Linked DNA regions of Homo sapiens: region 2 is linked to region 1. The links are contacts of gene promoters, found by promoter capture Hi-C in blood cells and fetal thymus (Javierre and others, 2016). All regions are on one chromosome and are shown on one strand. The core of a region is centred on a gene start or on the middle of the fragment in contact, and the rest is flanking DNA. Distances in the headings are between cores, read along the strand shown.

Region 1 (3,236 bases), core at 183-2,682:
TTTACAGCCCACATTCCCATGCCCTTGCCACCTAAGATTTTGTGTGTTACCTTAGATAGATGTTAAAGTTTTGGATGCCATACATTTCTGTCTTCGATGAGAAATTGGATAATACCTCCTCTCAAGCCATTCAGTTCTGGGAAAATGCCCTTCTTCAGCGAATTTCTCTTTTCATCCCTGGAATTTAAGTGAGACAGATAACTTCTGTAGCTAGTTGGGGTGCCCTAAAATAACCCTAAGCTCCCAAGTCCAGAGCTCAGTCCCAAGGGTTGTTTCTCTTCTAGTGCATTGACAAGGCCAGGGACCTGCTGGATGCTGAATTAACTGCGATGGCAGGAGAGAGTTACAGTCGGGCATATGGGGTAAGTGTCAACTATTCTGCACATTGTCATTTTTGAGGCTTATTTCCATACTTTTTTCAGAATGGGCTATTGAGAACTTACAGGCTGCTGGAAACATGCCTGTTTTCTCTGATCGGCAGATACCCTGACACCAGAAGGAATGATTTAAATTAATCCTGTCTTTTGGATTGTTCGTGCAGTAATTAGTTTGGAATGCGATTTGCTTCCATCAGGCCATGGTTTCTTGCCACATGCTGTCCGAGCTGGAGGAGGTTATCCAGTACAAACTTGTCCCCGAGCGACGAGAGATCATCCGCCAGATCTGGTGGGAGAGACTGCAGGTGAGCTTGGTAGAAAGCCCCAGTTCACCCACCTACCCCTACCCCTTCCAGGACCTGGGTGAGTGCCCCCCTCCACCCTGGCTCTTACTCAACTTGCTTTTCCTGCCTCCTCCACCAGTGTATTGCTTGGCTTGCATACAAAGCAGAATACTCAAAGGCTCCTCACCTAAACTTAAGCTGTGAGAGAATGACCAATTTTCCAGTCTCTTCTTATTCTCTTCTCTAGGAATTAAAAAAAATGTTTTTTAGTAAGTGACACCTGTGACCAGTCAGTTAGGAATCATAACCTCAAAATCAGTGGTTCTCAACCTTAGCAGCACAGTAGAATCACCTGCAGAGCTTTTTAAAATCCTGATGCCCAGGCTATTCCCCAGGCCAATTAAATTTCTGGGGAGAGACTCAGGATCAGTATCTTTTCAGGTTCCCCCAGATGATTCCACCAGCCAAAGCTAAGAACCACTGCTCTAACTACACTTGGAGGCCACCTGCACCAGCTTTTCAGATGGGGTTGCCTTAGGTTCTCATTGGCCAACTCCTGCTATTTATAGCTACTTAGGTCAGAGTCATCCTGTCGCCTCTATTGAGACTTTTTTTCCACTGCAGTTTCCGCTTGTAGAGAAGAAGCTTTCCCAAGTCCTCCATCAGTGTTTTCATTCTCACATTCTGATCATTTTAACATGAGAAACTGTCACTCCAGGTCTGGGAGTCAGGAGTCTAAATGTTCTGGGAAGGATGGCCAGTTATCCCATTCCTTGAGTGGGTAGGATAGGAAGTTCATCAGCAAAAGAAAAAAGAGAGAAAGCCTTTACCACTCCAGAAACCATTTGTCTCCCTACCTATCATAATCCATCCCCGCAATTATAAACCATTTCCTCTCAACTAGATCCCCACCTAATTGCTAATTCCAAATTCTCGCTTCAGACCAATCGAAGTTTGTGCTTCCAGGCGTCTCAGTAGGCTGCGACAAAACCTTTTGACTCCAAACACATTCCTGCCTAGGAAGCTCAGGGCACATTCCCCTGGACAGGAAAGAGCAATGGGCAAAGGAACATCTATGAATACAGTCATTTATGGCTCTGAAATGAGCACATACAGTTCTTTTACATGTTTTATTAGTAATTATGAAATGCCCAGTGAATGTTTTGATGGAAAATTGTCTCCTGGGCACCAGAAAGAATTCCACAAATAAGCATTTCCCACTTGATTTGTACACACCCCAATTCTTTGAAATGCCTATAATAAAGAGTTTCTACAGCAGAGATCTGATGAACCTTCTGACAGTCTGACAAGTGGGACTTGATCCAAATGTAGACTTAGAGGAGAGGGGAGGCATGGAATGAGTCCTGGGAAGAGAGATGCCTGTCTGACTTTACTGGGTCCAGGACACTGCCACCACCTTAAGCCTTCGTGACTTTCCTATCTTGAGGCAGCAAGATGCTTTTTGGCTTACAGGAGGCCAAATTATTTCAGCATCTGGGAGAACCTAACTATTGGTGAGAAGTCACAAAAAACAATCACTCAGTGTACTTTTTTCTGTTATTTTAACTTTCGAAATCATTGTTGTCACACTTCATGGGATGGAAAAATGTGGTCCAAGGCCTGAAAGTAAAGCATTACATTTATAGTGGAAATTTGGCTCTTGTGGATGGCTTGCTGTCAAATGAACTGCTGGGGCTAGAAAACTGCCATTTTGTGGTCAAATCATTTAAATTAAAATCCCCAACCAGTATTATAGTAGTGGAAAAATACATGTTTGTTACTTTTCTTTGGAGTTGCACCAATGCTTTTGGTTCCTAAGACCCTCCCATAGGGCAGTTAGAGAGGTCAGCCTTACTGGCGCTGGGTCTCTTCTAGCCTTGGGTTCTCCAGTCAGGCTCAGACTGCATCTTATCATAGCTAAAAGCCTGAGATCATTGTCGCTAGACTTTTAAGTTTATCTCCATGGAGGACAGCTCCATGGGTTCATGGAATTTACCATGAAGCAGTAGATCTCAGGAACTCCCCTTCTGAGTCTGACTTCTTATCAACAAGGATGAAAAAGGAGTTCACTTGGCCAGGCATGGTGGCTCACACCTGTAATCCCAGCACTTTGGGAGGCTGAGGCAGGTGGATTGCTTGAGGTCAGGAGTTTGAGACTTAGCCTGGCCAACATAGAGAAACCCCCTCTCTGCTAAAAGAAAAAAATACAAAAATTAGCCAGGCGTGGTGGCGCACACCTGTAATCCCAGCTCCTTGGGAGGCTGAGGCAGGAGAATCGCTTGGACCTGGGAGGCAGAGGTTGCAGTGAGCCAAGATTGCGCCACTGCACTCCAGCCTGAGGGACAGAATGATACTCCATCTCCAAAAAAAAAGGAGTTCTGCCTGCTTCTGCTCCCAAAGTTCTGGGATTACAGGCATGAGCCACCATGCCTGGCCTTCTGATACATTTTAACTTCCCTGCAAGCCACAGCCAAATCCACTGTGAAACACAACGGAGATTTGCTGATAGAATCTCAGGTTAAGGGTACTGTGAGTGAAATACCCTTAGGCAGCCGTCCCCAACCTGACTCTCTAT
Region 2 (3,194 bases), core at 82-2,581, 76 kb before region 1:
TAGTTCCAGAGCTAGAACTATAAATAAAATCTTATCTAGCAACGTCTAGCTTCTGTCACCATCTTTATACCTCGTTTTCTTCCTTCCTTTATTATTTCCTATTGCTGCTATAACAGATTACCACAAATTTAGTGGCTTAACACAGATTTCTTATCTTACAGCTCTCTAGGTTATATTTCTGACATGAGGTCTCACTGGGCTAAAATCAAGATGTTGACAGGACTGTGTTCCCATCTGGAAGCTCTAGGGGAGAATTGTTTTCCTTGCTTTTTCTAGCTTCTAGAGCACGAGGAGTTGGACAAGCTTGTTTTAGAGGGTGCCTGCGTTCCTAGGCCCCCTTCCTCCATCTTATTAAACATTATTGTCGTTTTATGTCGTGTTTGTTTATATTCATCCACACATATTTCATGTCTCATCACCCTGTCTTCCATATTAGAGCTTTCTCCTAGAATCATATTCTTTCTTCATAGGACAAATTCCTCTTAGGAGCATTCATTGAAATAAACTGCTCTTATCTGAATAAGTCTTTATTTCACCCTCTTTTTAAATCTTCATTTGGAGATTTAAAAATTAAATTAAAAAATTTATTTTTTTAGCCAAGAATATTATTCTAGGTTCTCCTACAACTGTAGATACGATCCCACTTTCTGACTTCTTTTTGTTGCCGTTGAGAAATCGTGAATCCCTTTTACATATTTTTTCTGTGGCTTTACTTCTCATTGTTTTGTTATCCTGAAGTGTTTACTATTATATATCTAGATGTGAATTTCTTTTGATTATCCTGTTTGAGACTTGGAGGGCTTCCTGAATGTGAGGATTGGTATCTTATCAGTTCCTGAGAAATTCTCATCTATTATCTTTTTTGGAATTTTGTCCTTATACCCTTCTATTTTTTTTTTCTTTCTTTTCTTTTCTTTTCTTTTTTTTTTTTTTGAGATCAAGTCTCACTCTGCTGCCAGGCCGGAATGCAGTGGTACGATCTCGGTTAACTGCAACCTCCACCTTCCATGTTCGAGTGATCCTCATGCCTCAGCCTCCTGAGTAGCTGGAACTACAGGCGTGCACCACCATGCTGGCTAATTTTTTTTGTTTTTTGCATTTTCAATAGAGACAGGGTTTTACCATGTTGCCCAGGCTGGTCTTGAACTCCTGTCCTCAAGCAATCCACCCGCCTCAGCCTTCCAAAGTGCTGGAATTATAGGCATGAGCCACCGTGCCCAGCCTTATTCCCACTTTTTTTAAGGCATTTTAAACAGACTAAATTTTCTGTCGAATACTTCTATTATATATAAAACTCTTAGTGGGTCTGATTGTGTATATTGTTTCTGAGAAGTCATGCTTGTAGTGGTCTGTTTCCTCACGTGTTTTATAATTTCGAATCATATAGCATATTCAACTGGGCTTTCCCTGGAGCAATACTAGAAAATCTGCTCTAAATTTGCATCTTTCCAGAGAGGATGTGCATTTACTTCTGCCAGGTGGTCCATGAGAACTTTAATTTCTTGGCTTAGAGATTCCCAGGCCACACAGTTAGTGAAAATAAATCCCTAAACCTGTACAATAGATGCCTGAAATTATGAACTCTTAGGGGAGGCATTTTTCTGCCTAGACCCCACATCACAACTGGCAAATTTCTTTATCTCCTTTTACCAGTGGACAGATTTTTTTTTTTTAACTCACCATTTCTCTTAATATGTAGCTCTTTGAAAGTCTGGCTTTATGTGAGAGGCTTTAGTTCTTTTTTTTTTTTTGAAACAGGGTCTCACTTTGTTGCCCAGGCTGGAGCGCAGTGACATGATCTCAGCTCACTGTAACCTCACCTCTGAGGCTGAAGTGATCCTCCCACCTCAACCTTCCAAGTAACTGGGACTACAGACACATGCCACTATGCCCAGCTAATATATTTTTTTGTACTTCTGGTAGAGACAAGGTTTTGCCATGTTGCTCAGGCTGGTCTTAAACTTCTGAGCTCGGGGTGATCTGCCTACCTTGGCCTCCCAAAGTGCTGGGATTACAGGCGTGAGCCACTGCGCCTGGCCACTTCAGTTCTAATAATCTTATAATCATGTTTATATTTTTGTACTTAATTTTAGGCTTTTCATAGTGGGGGAGTTTGGAAGGAGATCTAGTGCATCATATTTTCAGGAGCAAAACTGTGTTCTTTTAAAATACTCATGTTCCGAGCAAAAAGAGAACACATGTGAAAGGCTAAGGAAGAAGAGGCAGCTCCTCTAGCTCTCTACTCAGCATTGAGGTGCTTGCCTGTCCATGTCCCTTGGGCAGCTACTCCTTATGAATAAGCCACGGAAATGCTCCCTAATCATGCCTAATAAAATGGCACCAAGGACCAGGAAGCTTGTTTCCTCTTTCTGTCTCTCAGTTTTCTCTGACCTCCCCGCCATCGCTGTAGGCCTGTTTTCCTCCAGCTTAGGTTTTCTACTTTCTTTCAGGCTTTGCATAATAAAAATTTGCCTGAAGAACCTTTATATTTAGTCTCATTTTCCTTGATCTTTGTAATAACATTTTTTTTTTTTTGAGATGGAGTCTCGCCCTGTCGCCCAGGTTGGAGTACAATGGTGTGACCTTAGCTCACTGCAACCTCCGCCTTCCGGTTTCAAGCAATTCTCCTGCCTCAGCCTCCCGAGTAGCTGGGATTACAGGCACATGCCACCATGCCCAGCTAAATTTTGTATTTTTAGTAGAGATGGGGTTTCACCATGTTGGCCAGGCTGATCTCAAACTCTTGACCTTGTGATCTGCCCGCCTCAGCCTCCCAAAGTGCTGGGATTACAGGCGTGAACCACCGCGCCCGGCCTGTAATAACATATTTGTATAGGGACCACTATACATATTTGTATGGGGAATCACTACAAAACTGTAGTGATTCAATTTGGGGAATGGTGGGGACCAGGAGATAGGTAGAAATGAGCCTACTGAGTCAAATGTGTGCCACATGGGGACCAGGCTGTAATCACCTTAGAAGTCAAAGTTATCATTAGGGAATATGTTCAAACTCTTCTTTAAGCCCAATCCTGTATGTCCTATCGATCTTGCCTCTTTGGGTAATGAGTACTATAAATCCATTACTCACTGTTTGAGATAGCACTTTTTTTTTTAAGTAATGCTTTTTATTTATTCCAACTTACCCGACTTGCATGTGGATAGGAGTGAAAATACATATGTTCATTTTCTAA

What was found. Contacts are between HindIII fragments. The CHiCAGO score rates a contact against its expected background, and 5 or more counts as called.
Region 2: a fragment that was not itself captured here is called in contact with the fragment with the promoter of MTOR-AS1 in region 1 in 1 of 17 cell types (endothelial precursors); the score reaches 5.1 in endothelial precursors.

Annotation. Positions count from the first base shown.
Region 1 is chr1:11,142,094-11,145,329 of GRCh38, reverse strand. It overlaps MTOR-AS1 (MTOR antisense RNA 1), which reads right to left and starts at 1,432. Exons shown (of 4, transcript NR_046600.1): 1 at 1,343-1,432; 2 at 444-663; 3 at 51-177. MTOR (mechanistic target of rapamycin kinase) reads left to right here. Exons shown (of 58, transcript NM_004958.4): 33 at 285-362; 34 at 575-682. The HindIII fragment of the contact is 11,786 bases long and covers 1,309-3,236 here.
Region 2 is chr1:11,217,771-11,220,964 of GRCh38, reverse strand. All of the region lies in intron 19 of MTOR (mechanistic target of rapamycin kinase), which reads left to right. Among named protein-coding and RNA genes, the nearest start is that of ANGPTL7, 30 kb to the right of the region's middle. The HindIII fragment of the contact is 2,052 bases long and covers 306-2,357 here.